Regions from separate parts of the Homo sapiens genome. Here regions 1, 2, 3 and 5 are each linked to region 4. The links are contacts of gene promoters, found by promoter capture Hi-C in blood cells and fetal thymus (Javierre and others, 2016). All regions are on one chromosome and are shown on one strand. Each heading gives the region's core, a stretch centred on a gene start or on the middle of the fragment in contact. The rest is flanking DNA. Distances are from core to core; before and after follow the strand shown. Region 1 overlaps LOC105370003 (a long non-coding RNA gene). Region 2 overlaps LOC105370003 (a long non-coding RNA gene). Region 3 has its middle 89 kb from the start of LINC02463. Region 4 holds the start of TBX3 (T-box transcription factor 3). Region 5 has its middle 110 kb from the start of LINC02463.

The links. Contacts are between HindIII fragments. The CHiCAGO score rates a contact against its expected background, and 5 or more counts as called.
Region 1: a contact is called between a fragment that was not itself captured here and the fragment with the promoter of TBX3 in region 4, in 2 of 17 cell types (M0 macrophages and M2 macrophages). The highest score is 7.4, in M0 macrophages.
Region 2: a contact is called between a fragment that was not itself captured here and the fragment with the promoter of TBX3 in region 4, in 8 of 17 cell types (M2 macrophages, endothelial precursors, M1 macrophages and 5 more). The highest score is 21.9, in M2 macrophages.
Region 3: a fragment that was not itself captured here is called in contact with the fragment with the promoter of TBX3 in region 4 in 1 of 17 cell types (total B cells); the score reaches 5.4 in total B cells.
Region 5: a fragment that was not itself captured here is called in contact with the fragment with the promoter of TBX3 in region 4 in 1 of 17 cell types (M2 macrophages); the score reaches 6.2 in M2 macrophages.

Annotation. Positions count from the first base shown.
Region 1 is chr12:115,734,598-115,737,297 of GRCh38, reverse strand. All of the region lies in intron 1 of LOC105370003 (a long non-coding RNA gene), which reads left to right. Among named protein-coding and RNA genes, the nearest start is that of LINC02463, 150 kb to the left of the region's middle. The HindIII fragment of the contact is 5,033 bases long and covers 1-2,700 here.
Region 2 is chr12:115,753,924-115,756,623 of GRCh38, reverse strand. All of the region lies in intron 1 of LOC105370003 (a long non-coding RNA gene), which reads left to right. Among named protein-coding and RNA genes, the nearest start is that of LINC02463, 130 kb to the left of the region's middle. The HindIII fragment of the contact is 1,630 bases long and covers 621-2,250 here.
Region 3 is chr12:115,795,481-115,798,180 of GRCh38, reverse strand. No RefSeq gene overlaps it. Among named protein-coding and RNA genes, the nearest start is that of LINC02463, 89 kb to the left of the region's middle. The HindIII fragment of the contact is 2,573 bases long and covers 72-2,644 here.
Region 4 is chr12:114,682,814-114,685,513 of GRCh38, reverse strand. It overlaps TBX3 (T-box transcription factor 3), which reads left to right and starts at 1,339. Exons shown (of 7, transcript NM_005996.4): 1 at 1,339-2,700. The coding sequence starts at 2,314. All of the region lies in intron 1 of TBX3-AS1 (TBX3 antisense RNA 1), which reads right to left. RefSeq lists a promoter at 828-1,337. The HindIII fragment of the contact is 4,535 bases long and covers 1-2,700 here.
Region 5 is chr12:115,776,406-115,779,105 of GRCh38, reverse strand. No RefSeq gene overlaps it. Among named protein-coding and RNA genes, the nearest start is that of LINC02463, 110 kb to the left of the region's middle. The HindIII fragment of the contact is 8,845 bases long and covers 1-2,700 here.

The DNA.
Region 1 (2,700 bases), core at 121-2,620, 1.1 Mb before region 4:
GTAAGTATTAGCTAGGCTATATTTGTTGCAGGGGACAGAGAGCTAAATACAAATGGCTTAAGTAGAGGGAAACTTTGGGCTTATATAATGGAAACACCCAAAGGTATCTGGCTTCAGGCACCGTAGAATCCAGGGGCTCAGACATTTATCACATAACCACACTAAGTATCTGACGTGATCAGATAGAGCACTTGAGTGGTGGGGTGGAGACTAGACTGGAACATGAATGGAAGCTGGAAGGCCAGTTTTGGGGAAAGGACATTGCAATAGTCCAGGCATAGGAGCGTGGTAGCTTGGATTAAGTGGATGAGGGGGAAGTGAGTGGATGTCAGAAATGAAGTAGATGGCAAAGACTTGGGATAGAGCATGTGAGGGCTAAGGAAGAGGGAGATGTCAAGAATAATTCTTAGGTTTCTGACTTTGACATCTGGATAACTGGCTGAGTTGGGATACCTTATCCAAGAAGGTGGGTATAAAAAAATCTAACTTAAGAGAGGTGGTCCCAAGTGAGTGCTGTTTGTATGGAGTTCTTTCTTTATCCCTTCAGGTTGGGTTTAAGCGGATTCTAATGGTAGGGGATGGAGAAAGCGGAGCCATTTCCCTTTTTAATTTTAGGCCCATGTGATTATGCTGCTGCCAATTCGCCAATGCTGCAAAGATCAAATGGGCAAATTTAGGGAACATCAGCTGCACAACTACTTGGCATCTGCACTTAGGTACATTTCTTTATCTCTCTGAACTTTAAACTCCTAGTTTTAGAAAATGTAGATAACATGTGCCATCTAGTGAAGATTAAAGGTAATATATACATAGATATTTATATGTCCCTAGCACAGAGCCTGGGACAAAGTAGGAACATAATTAACAGCTGACTGGGGGAGCTAAACTGGAGTTGACCAGATCCCATGGCTGCAGTCATTAGGGCCTTTGTAGACCACTCACTTCTTGGAAGAGAGGCAGAACAAAGAGTGTGGACCAAGCAAGGGTGGTTTATAAGTGGGGAGGCAGAGCATAAGAAAATCTTTACTATATGGCAGGACTCTTAACTTTCGATGTATGATGAACCCCTTTTGTAGTTTGGAGAAACTATTTCTAAATGCATAGCATATACATAGAATTACAAAGGATATCAATTATACGATCATGTGCTGCATAAAGACCTTCAGTCAACAATGGACCAAATATACTGTGGAGGTCATCTAATAAGCTAAGGTTAATTTATTATTTAAGAAAGGAGAAATTTAAAAATAAATTTAGCATAGCCTAAGTGTACTGTGTTTATAAGGTCTGCAGTAGAGCACGGTAATATCCTAGGCCTTCACATTCACTCACCACTCACTCACTGACTCACCCAGAGCAACTTCCAGTCCTGCAAGCTCCATTCATGGTAAGCGCCCTATACAGGTATATAAGTTTATATCTCAAAAAAATTTTTTTTATTTTACTTTAAGTTCTGGGGTACATGTGCAGAACGTGCAGTTTTGTTACATAGGTATACACGTGCCATGGTGGTTTGCTGCACCCATCAACCCATCACTACATGAGGTATTTCTCCTAATGCTATCCCTCCCCTAGCCTCCCACCCGCTGACAGGCCCTGGTGTGTGATGTTCCCCTCCCTGTGTCCATGTGTTCTCATTGTTCAACTCCCACTTATGAGTGAGAACATTCAGTGTTTGATTTTCTGTTCTTGTGACAGTTTGCTGAGAATGATGGTTTCCAGCTTCATCCATGTCCTGCAAAGGACATGAACTCATCCTTTTTTATGGCTGCATAGTATTCCATGGTGTATATATGCCACATTTTCTTTGTCCAGTCTAGAACTAGAAATACCATTTGACCCAGCAATCCCATTACTGGGTATATACCCAAAGGATTATAAATCATACGTCTTTTATACTGTAATTTTATTACAGTATAAAATTCCTTTTATTTATTCCTTTTATACTGTAATTTTATTACAGTATAAAAATTCCTTTTCTATGTTTAGATATACAAATACTTCCCTTTTGTGTTACAATTGCCTATAGTATTCAGTACAGTAACATGCTGTACAGGTTTGTAGCCTAGGAGCAATAGGCTATACTCTACAGCCTAGGTGTGTAGTAGGCTGTCCCGTCTAGGTTTGTGTCAGCGTACTCTGTGATGTTTGCACAATGTCACAACTGCCTAGATACATTTTTCAGAACAGATCCCCATCATTAAGCAATGCATGACTATATTTAAATGCTGTAGTAAGATTAAAGAAACCACAATGCCACAACTATAAGTTATAAAAATATGTGTTTTTAAGTTAATTCATCAAGTAACTAGGTCTAGTCTAATTCATCTGATGATTAGGATAACTCAAAATGGTGATGAGCGCACATGTTATTTTGAGGTTTCTCTGACAATTGAAATGCAACATAAAAATATTTATGGTTTCTACGGATGGCAAATTCACAGGGACCATTAATACCATTGTGATTTGCTATCTACCTTCATTATTGATGGAAATGCTAATTTTGGTTAGAGGTTAAGAAAAATAAAGATATAGTTTTTTTGTTTTTTGTTTTTTTGTTTTTTTTTGGTTTTTTTTTGGATAAAAAAAATCACAGAGCCATTGAGTTTCAACCCTGGCCTCTTGTGGTTTTGCAGATCTCAGGTTAAAAACACTTGCTGGAGGGTGAGGGGAGGGCACCTGTCAAAACACTTATCAAAA
Region 2 (2,700 bases), core at 186-2,685, 1.1 Mb before region 4:
TCTTGTTTTCTACCTACCTCCCCCCCTTTCAAGATGAAGGTAATTTGTTTTCTCTGGTAGAAGTTGCAGAGGGCAGCGGGGGATTGGGGAAGAGCAGTGTAGTTATAGAAAGCACCAAATGGCATTTCCAAGCTATCTGAGAATATTAACGTTTGAGTGTGTCAGATCTGCCCAGGGGCAGGAGGCTTAAGATCATTTTTCTCCGCTGAGGTTTAATGATTGAATGCATTTTGTCTGAAGGAAAAAAAAAGGAGGAAATAAATTTTTTGAAAAAGGTTTATATTTACAGAGAGTGCCTAACGAACTAGTTAACATTCTTACTATCAGGAAAGCCTAAACCATTCATAAATAAACCATTTTAAACCACCTTTACCCACATGCAGCACTCTTTCTTTCAGCTCCCTTTAGCAATTTGAAGTACAGGAGATTAAAGTCCTTTGGAAATTTCCAAGGTCAGACCTCAACTAAAATAGGATTAAGGGGGTAAGGGCGGGGGGGAGACAAAAATGAAGAGAAAGGTCTTATTCCCTTTTCCCCCTTCTCCTAACTATCTGAAATAAATCGGAAGTTATTTCTCGAAATCCTCCTTTCCCCTGGCCAGTGGCAGCTCTTCAAAAGCTTCTGAGACTGTTTAAAATTTTTCCTATCCCTTCCTCCCCCCATTGTAAGAAAAACAAGTAGAGTGAGGAAGGGAAGTTAAAAGGTTGACGTTAGGGTCCCTTCTAGGCAATACTCCAGGGAGCACTGTGACATTAAGAACTTTTGCTGAAAGCAGCTGCTAGTTTGATCATTACTGAAAGAAGAAAAATTCTGCAACATTGCAACCATTTTCTCTTTAGATGTTCCAAACCAGTATTCCAACAAAGGAAATGAAAAAGGGAAACCCACTCTTTCTCCCCTTTTCTTTCTGTGTTCCATATGTAATGTTTAATTTCGGCACCAAGGACATACAGCTTTGAATTAGAAAACACACAAAGATAAAACAGCTCTCCTGCCCACAACTCTGTAAATGTTTCTCTTTCTTTCTTCTTCCCTTCCTTCTCTCCTTCCCTCCCTTCTTTCCTTCCTTTTCTCTTTATCATCCCCCCATAAATGTTTTCCTCTTTCTTTTCCATTTTGCCTTCCTTCAACTTCTCTCTCCCTTGCTTTCTTCCCCCATCTGTCTTTCCTTCTCATTTCTAATTCCTCCCTACACATAAACAACGACAGAAACCACAACATCTTTCAGTCTACCTTGGTTGCATTTGTTCTTGCTCTTAATTTGATCCATTCTTTTACAGTCTTCCTGGACGTTGCTTGCCTTTTTGTTCATCAGATTTCAGCAAGGAGAGCTGTCTCGGTACATTTTGATAGATCTTAACAGTAATTATGTAGGGACTTCAAAGCAAAACTACTTATGTGCGCTCTCTTTTTCTCTATCTTTCTGCATGCGAGCGTGCAAACACACACGCTATCTCAATCCTAACCCCACTAAATCCATACAACAAAAAAATCCTTTTTAAACAGGGCAGAAAATTATGTGGAAATTAGCAGCTGGTATTTCGAATGTATGGTGATTGCAGAAACCTCCCCAAATTTCTGGGGGAAATAATGAAAGGACCCTATAAAGAAATAGTGCTTCTTATTTGACTAGTCTTCATTTAAAATGTTTTCAGTCATGCTTTGAAATTTCAACATTTTAGACTAGGGATCATGAATAACCTGCAATGATAAAAAAAAAAAAAAAAAAAGAGGCTGAGAGATAAATTAAATAGGATCTGCCAACATTGGGTCTGGTGCTGACATACGATTATTCCTAAATTGAATGATTTGGTCCTAGCAAATTTGTGCCTTTGAATAGGCCATTTTATGGCAAAGTACAAATATTTTAAAGAAGAGTTTTACGTATTAAATATTAAAAAACTAGACACAATTCTAGTTTTGTGTCTGCCTTTAAATAATCAGAGTTGGGCCATCAGGTTTCAAGGAAAAAACATTCATTCAATGAAATAATGAATAGCAAAGCTGGATGTTTCATTGACGAAATGTTTTCCAGGGATTTTGACTTTATTATAAATGAGGTTTTATCTCAGGAACTAAAAATACTAGAAAGGAAGGAAATCAACGAAGGGGCTGAAAATACTAGGAAATATTAACCAAGTCCTCCCCTTGAAGAAAGATCTGGAATTTGTAGATGCCTCTGAAAGTCTGAGCAAAGTACAAACAAAAGAAACTATTAGAATCCCAAAGACTTGTTCAGTGTAGAAAGCTTATACACATCCGACTAGTGAATGTGTCTTCTTCAGGGTGGGTGCTTTTGAGGATAACAGATCAAAACATGCACGTGTATATATGCAATGTGTATTACTTTTCATATATTTGTCAAAATTTACGTAGATGGCCATCTAGGAAAACTCCTACATGGTGCAGTTGGAAAGAGAGTATTTGATTTTTGCATGTTATCGACATACTTCCTGAGAATATTACAAATAAAAACATGTCATCCGTTCTTCTAAAGAAAGACATCTTTCTTCTCTCTATTGATTTTGGCAAATTTACTGTCTAATTTGAAACCTGAAGTAATAGAGGCAAAATAAACCCTAAAGAAGGACATCTAACTATGGGATTTTCCATTTTCTCTCTAAGAGATGGCACAGTTATTTAAAAAGGAGAACTCCCAGTGTTTCCTCTGGTTTTAAAGGACAACAAAAAATGTAATAG
Region 3 (2,700 bases), core at 109-2,608, 1.1 Mb before region 4:
GCTTTCAAAAATTCTAACTTTTTTATTGAAATATAGGTGATCAGAAAAGTGAAAATGTTCATTGTAAAGCTTGATAAAATTTCACAAACTGAATGTATCCAGATCGAGTTGCTGAACACTAGCGACACCTCAGAACCCCACCTCACGCTCCCTTCTGGACATTAGTAACACCATTCTGACTTCTAACTTGTGCTGGATTTGAAACCATCAGGGCCAATAATATTATAGAGTGGAATGCTAAAATAACATAACTTCTGGTTTGCAGAGCACACTTTTGCAAATACTGGGTCCCAAACCGTGACATTTCACCAAAATACATGAGTTGGCTCTGTCCCAACAAACTTGTTAAAGTGGTCCTGTCCCTTCTCCTAACACTGGCTTCACAAGCTCTGCTCTCTCTTTTTGGTCTTTAACATCAGCTTTCTTTCTTTCTTTTTTTTTTTTTTTAGACAAAGTCTTACTCTGTTGCCCAGAGCAGTGGTGCAATCTCGGCTCACTGCAACGTCCACCTCCTGGGTTCAAGCGATTCTTGTGCCTCAGCCTCTCAAGTAGCTGGGACTACAGGTGAGTGCCACCACGCCCAGGTAATTTTTTGTATTTTTAGTAGAGACAGGGTTTCTCCATATTGGCCAGGCCGGTTTCAAATTCTTGGCCTCAAGTGATCCACCTGCCTTGTCCTCCCAAAGTGCTGGGATTAGAGGTGTGAGCCACCATGCCTGGCCAACATCAGCTTCTGACAGATGAGGAATTTCAAAAATATTCTCAAATGCCAAACGTCTCAGCACTAGATGCAAACCTCTCCATGTGCAGGGTTATGCAAGCATCAGAGAATGGATGGAGATCTTTTACATTTAGTTGATTTAATTAAACGCCTTTACTACCCCCGCACTGTTGCATTTGTCTTGTTTTTAATTTCCAATCTTGAGTCAACTCTGCTCTGCCAAGTTTTGGTAGAGATAGATGCAGAAGGGGTTTTAAATAAAAATTTCCATCTGTCCAGAATCTAGGAAAAATTCTACACAATGTTATATCAAAGGGCACATGAGTTGTGAACTTTCTGGGAGGGTTAGAAAAGCATGGAGAAATGCATTTCCTAGAATCTACCTTCCATCCCAGGCAGGGCTCAGGCCCTGTCCTCAATTCTTAGCCAGAAGCCCTGGGGTTAATCTTCCTAAATGACACTTAACAGGTGGGGCCTCTTGAAATCTCTGTGGCAAGACCTCTGGGTCTATAAATCTGCAATGGGACCAATGCTCTGAATTCTTAATCAAGCCTGTTTCCTTTATTAATCTCCAAGACCGGCAGTGATTTATAAGCAGGGCTTCCATTTGGTCCAGAAAATGAAATTCATTTCACAAACCCGTAAGTGTGGTCCAAATCAATTGACCACGATACTTTCCTATTTCATGCTCTGTGTCACACTGATCTTTTAACTTGATTGTTCTATTACCAAGTATTCACTTAAAAGCCTTTGCTGGGTTTCTGTGCCTCACAAAAATAATATTAGCCCCAGCACAATGATCATTACTGATACCAAGATTGGGCTTTTAGATGACTGCAACTGGAAAGGGATAGTGGTGAGGTGAGAAAAGGAGGAGGTAATGAGACTTGAATCATCTGGTGTCAAGGTTCCTAAATGATGGAGAACTGAGTGATCATGGGAAACCCATTCACAGGCAGGTCTCTGGGCTCCACCCAAACTCTGCCAAATCAGTGTCTCTGGGAATGGGGAAATGATATCTTGAGAATTCTACAGTTGAAACTAAAAATTCTAGGAATACAGGGAGCTTCTCCCTCAGTCTAGAAATACCAGGTTGTTTATTTCTTCAGCAAATGTTTATTGAGCACCTGCTATGTGCCAGGCACTGTGATAGGCATTTGGGATACATCAGGGAATCCGTAGATGGGAATCCGTAGACAGGAATCCCTAGCTTTCTGGACATGGTAACCATTTAGTTGATTGCAGAGAATATAAAAAATAATGATTAACCCTCATCGAATATGCACTAGAATTTCTCATTTAATCCTCACCACAGACATAAGAAGTGGTGCATACTACCACTTTCAGAGATGGGAAAGTTGATACTCAAAAGACTGAATTACCCAATGTCACAGCTGATAAAAGGTGGATCAGAGTTCCCAACCCAGGTCTGCTGAACCAGCCTGCTACAGCCTGCTAGCAATTATACGTCTACACTTGTTTCAGAGGCTAAAGTGAGGATGACATATAATCAAACAGGTCGCTGGTTCTTCTGTGCAAGCCACAAGTAGTTATTGAGCATCTACTATGAGTAGAATCTTTTCTCAAAGGTGGAGACTCAAGGATGAATGAGGTACCATGTCCAGCAGATGAGAGAGACACCTCAAAACACAATACAATGTATGCGACGGAAGTGGCAAGGGAGTTATAGACAGGATGCTCAGGGTGCTTGTGGCTGGGACTCCCAGCTAGATTTGGGGGTAAACTGAGGATTTGTGGAGGAGGTGGAGGAGGGTAAGTTGGACACGTGGGAGCTTGCCAGGCTGGGGGAACAGCATGTACAATAAGGACATGCATGTACAGGAGGCCCCTGGTTCTCAGCCTGGCTGGAGGTGAATGGGGGCTGGGGAAGATGATGCTGGAGAGGCAGGAAGAGCCTAAGCTTTGTTGGAGCTCTAAGGAATCTGGACCTCCCAAGGGAATTAGGAAGACATGGGATA
Region 4 (2,700 bases), core at 90-2,589:
TCCCCGACTTCTGGCCAGATTAAGTCCCCGGGGTGGAGAAAGAACTGAGGCACCGAGAGATAAGTGCGATGCCTAGAGAAGATACCAGGCTGGCGCGCCTCCCCCAACCCAATCGCCCACCCCTTACCCTGTGCTGTGCACCCAGCCGGGCCTCGAGGTGAGGGCAGCGGCTTGGAGGGGACAGGCTCAGAACCCAGTCTCTCGCTGTGCTCGCTTTGTCCAGATCCTCCATTCTCTTCTCTACACCCACACCCACATCCAGGTGGAATATGGGGGCCCGCATGCAAATGAAAGACGAGATCCAAAAGGGCTGGTAAATGCATTTCATAAAAATCCCAAATCCATCTTCCCCAGGAGCTCAGGCAGGGCCAGCCGCGCAGGCTGTGTACGTGTTTGTGTGTACGTGTTTTTCGGTGTGTGTTTCAGTCCCAGTGTGTTGGCGCGTGTTCGAGTACAGATACACCGGGGGTGTTTGGGTACCCGCACATGGCTGCGGGTGGGGCGCAGTGGAGAGGAAGCCCACACATGCGTGTGCTGAGATATGGCCGCATCCTTGTGCTCCCCCAGCCCAGACGCAGGGGAGACCAGCACCGAGACACCCGAGCTCGGGAGCCCTTCAGCGGCGGCCGGGCGGAGCTTGGCTCCACGTGGGGCTGGAGAGCACGCAAGCCTGGAGTCTCGGCGCTCGCTTCTCGGCTGCCGCCGGCTTTTGTAGAACCGAGTGGCCGGATGGCAGCTCGCGGGGAGGCTCGGCCACCCGCCCGGCTCGCCCGGGGCGGGGAGAAGAAGGAGAGCTGGAGAGAGAACCGGCCGCGGCGGTCGGAGAGGCGAGCGGAGTGCAAGAGAGGCGAGCGCCCCTGCCCGGCGCCCGGGCGCGCTCTCCGCCTTCCCCGCCCGGCTCGCCTGCTCGCTGGCTCCCTCCCTCTCTCCCTCCCCCTTCCTCCTTGGCCCTGCCTCCTCCCTCGATCCCCGGCTGGATGACTGAGGCATTTCAGACGTGGGCTGAACCAGAGCGAGCGAGCGAGCTCAGGGGCTGCAGCGATCTCTCGATAAGCCACCTAGAGGCGACTCTGTGCGCGCGCGCTCCCCAGTGGCTCCCGCCCGCCCTCTGATCATGTTGACATATTCACAGGACAGGCAGTAGTACCGATGCGGCGCTGCGACGTTACAGTTTCCGACACCTTCTTTTTATAACTCAGCTCTATCCCCCAGCACTCGACCTGTGAAAACCACGCCTATGCAGCAACACAATTGGTCCGAAAGCGTCAAAGAGCCAATCAAGAGGCCTCCGGCTCCCCGCAGCCCACAGCGCAGCCCGACCTTCTAGAGCCGCCGAGCAGACGCCCGGTGAATTCTAGAGGCGGCGGAGGGTGGCGAGGAGCTCTCGCTTTCTCTCGCTCCCTCCCTCTCCGACTCCGTCTCTCTCTCTCTCTCTCTCTCTCCCCTCCCTCTCTTTCCCTCTGTTCCATTTTTTCCCCCTCTAAATCCTCCCTGCCCTGCGCGCCTGGACACAGATTTAGGAAGCGAATTCGCTCACGTTTTAGGACAAGGAAGAGAGAGAGGCACGGGAGAAGAGCCCAGCAAGATTTGGATTGAAACCGAGACACCCTCCGGAGGCTCGGAGCAGAGGAAGGAGGAGGAGGGCGGCGAACGGAAGCCAGTTTGCAATTCAAGTTTTGATAGCGCTGGTAGAAGGGGGTTTAAATCAGATTTTTTTTTTTTTAAAGGAGAGAGACTTTTTCCGCTCTCTCGCTCCCTGTTAAAGCCGGGTCTAGCACAGCTGCAGACGCCACCAGCGAGAAAGAGGGAGAGGAAGACAGATAGGGGGCGGGGGAAGAAGAAAAAGAAAGGTAAAAAGTCTTCTAGGAGAACCTTTCACATTTGCAACAAAAGACCTAGGGGCTGGAGAGAGATTCCTGGGACGCAGGGCTGGAGTGTCTATTTCGAGCTCAGCGGCAGGGCTCGGGCGCGAGTCGAGACCCTGCTCGCTCCTCTCGCTTCTGAAACCGACGTTCAGGAGCGGCTTTTTAAAAACGCAAGGCACAAGGACGGTCACCCGCGCGACTATGTTTGCTGATTTTTCGCCTTGCCCTCTTTAAAAGCGGCCTCCCATTCTCCAAAAGACACTTCCCCTCCTCCCTTTGAAGTGCATTAGTTGTGATTTCTGCCTCCTTTTCTTTTTTCTTTCTTTTTTGTTTTGCTTTTTCCCCCCTTTTGAATTATGTGCTGCTGTTAAACAACAACAAAAAAACAACAAAACACAGCAGCTGCGGACTTGTCCCCGGCTGGAGCCCAGCGCCCCGCCTGGAGTGGATGAGCCTCTCCATGAGAGATCCGGTCATTCCTGGGACAAGCATGGCCTACCATCCGTTCCTACCTCACCGGGCGCCGGACTTCGCCATGAGCGCGGTGCTGGGTCACCAGCCGCCGTTCTTCCCCGCGCTGACGCTGCCTCCCAACGGCGCGGCGGCGCTCTCGCTGCCGGGCGCCCTGGCCAAGCCGATCATGGATCAATTGGTGGGGGCGGCCGAGACCGGCATCCCGTTCTCCTCCCTGGGGCCCCAGGCGCATCTGAGGCCTTTGAAGACCATGGAGCCCGAAGAAGAGGTGGAGGACGACCCCAAGGTGCACCTGGAGGCTAAAGAACTTTGGGATCAGTTTCACAAGCGGGGCACCGAGATGGTCATTACCAAGTCGGGA
Region 5 (2,700 bases), core at 96-2,595, 1.1 Mb before region 4:
GCTGTCTTTTATAGTCTACCAAGTCAGCAGTCAGGATCAGGATTTATTACACATAAGGCAGTAATTCTGTAACTCAGAAGCCACATCCACAAGCCCTGACATTCTAGGCCTTGAACACAGCACTGGGGTCATGTCTCCTTATCTACATCTTTGCTGTGAGGCCTGCTTTATAGGGCCAGTCATAACTTAACATCCCAGTCTACTGAGATTGCATCCTAGGACCTGTGGAACTGTTGGCAAAGAAGTGCTCTCTGTTTAGAAGAGTTGGATCTGAGAGGACATAAGGCTAGAGCTACTATAAGAGCTGCAGAGAGAATTTTCTTGAGGATGAATAAAAATAGGACTCCAAGATAAGGGGGCAGTGGAGGAGGTATCATAATCTAATGATTTCACTTGAGCCCCTGGATCCAGCCATGCCTGAATCCTGTCTGCTCCTAGACTTTTCAGGTAATTGAGCTAATAGGTTCTGCTTTTTTTGCTTAAGCCAGTTTGAGTTGGACTTCTGTTACTTCCACAAAAACAGTTCTGACTAAGGCAGATGGAGAGTAGAATCTATGAAGTGTTCTGATTGAATTTTGCTGGTATTCAGAATTCATCAGTGGAAAAGGTAATGGCATGGAAACCATCACCTTCCCCTTCTGCCATCTCCCCATAATGACTCACCTTCTTGGAACTTCAGTTTGCTCTTCTCTAAATCAAGTGGGTTTTGCTGGGTAGCCCTTAACGTGACTTAAGAAGACACTAAAAGTGGAGGAAGCATTCCTCAAAAGCAGTCAGAAACAACTGGATAAAGTGCATGACAATAGTAGAGTCTGCTGTTGTGCATTGAGCACTTACTCTCTGCCAGGTGTTCTGGCCACGGTCTCACTGAGTCCTAGCAACAACCCTCTGAGGTAGGTACTCCTGCTATCCCCGTTTTACAGATGGTAAAACTGAGGCACAGGGGGTGAAGTAAGTCACCCAAGATCACATTGCTAACAAGCAGTGGAGCCAGGATTTGAACATGAGCCTGCTGAGCCCCCTCCTTGCAAGCTCTGCCTACTTGCCTGGTTTGGGAAGGAGAGTTGGGGAGGGGGATCACATCTCTAAAGTGTTTCCTCAGCTGGTTGTCACCTCTGGAGCTAATGTCAGCTGATGGGTGCTGATATGCATTTAGTGCCCACAGCTAAACAACCTATGGCATCATAACTTAGAAAAGATGCCTGTAAAATAACTGAGTATTGAAAGTCGTTTAAAAAGATACTATTGCAAACAAGAAAGTACTTACAAACAAAGAAGAAGTAAAACCAGGACGATACATAAATGCAAACAAATAACATGGCAGAACTGACATGTCTCTAATGCCTAGTTTAAGGCCTGGACAAAATCTTAAAAATTATCAAGAAGACCATTTGAAATATGGGTTTATAGCCACAATTCCTAAAGATAAATCTTACCTACAGTACATAGCATACTTTGGGACATTAACCAATAATAGAAGCACAGGTCCACAATCCATTGTCTGTAAACCTAAAATCTATAAACCGCTGAAAGTTAAGTTTTTGTGGTAAGTTTGAGATACACTTATTTGGCAATACCTGATCTGAATAGATATGAGGACATTGAGAGTATTTATTCTCTTTAGAGTAACTGATCATATTTGTCTCTTTCTCTGTGTGTGTTTAGAGTGCTAACCCATATCTCCATGGGGATGTTAACTAATATTCAATATACACACCAGCTTCTCTTCCTAAAATCCAAAACAATTCTCATTTCTGAAGCACCTCTGGACCCAAGAGTTTTGAATAAAGGATTGTGGGTTTGCACAAATATATCATTTATAAACTAAGCATATGTGTAGTATGGGTGCATAGTAAAACTATTTCACTGATTGGATATACCATCAAAATGTACAGGTAACAGTTATTGGGGCTCCAGCATAAACAGGAAGTGCTCCATGCTCACAGATCCTCCCAGCTGTAATTTTCCTGCTGTCATGTCATTGCATGCTCTATTAGTATTCCTTTTCTATCCTTGGTGAAATATATTGTGACCATTTTCTTTTTTGTAGAGTCAAAATCGTGCTTTGTTTCCCAGGCTGGAGTGCAGTGGGACAATCATAGCTCACTGCAACTTTGAACTCCTGGGCGCAAGTGATCTTTTGGCCTCAGTCTCCCAAGTAGCTAGGACTATAGGTGTGCACCACCATGCCTGGCTATTTTTTAAATTTTTATTGTTGTAGAGACAGGGTCTTGCTATATTGCCCAAGTTGGTCTCGAACTTCTGGGCTCAAGCGATCCTCCTGCTTCAGCCCCCCAAATTGCTGGGACTACAGGTGTGAGCCACCATGCATAGTGGGTTGAGACCATGCTTTATTTGATGCTTAATATGGGTTTGGTACAAAAGAGGTGTGCAGTAAATGTTGAAAAACACATAAAACAAAGAAGAAAAAAAGGAAAGAAGGAAGGATAAGGAGGAGGGAGGAAGGGAAGGCAAAAAGGAAATGAAAAAGAAGGAAAGAAAAAAAGGAAAAGAATGAAAGTGAAAGGAAAAGGAAACAGATAAGAAAAAGAAAAAGAGGGAAAAAGAAAAAGGAAAGAAAAAGAAAGATGGTGAGTGCTTCGGCTTGCCAGCCCTTTCCCATGTATTCCTGCTAGACTGCCATGTTACTGGCCCCATAATGGGTAACCTCCCAGCTGGGGTGGGTCATTGCAGTGCTCA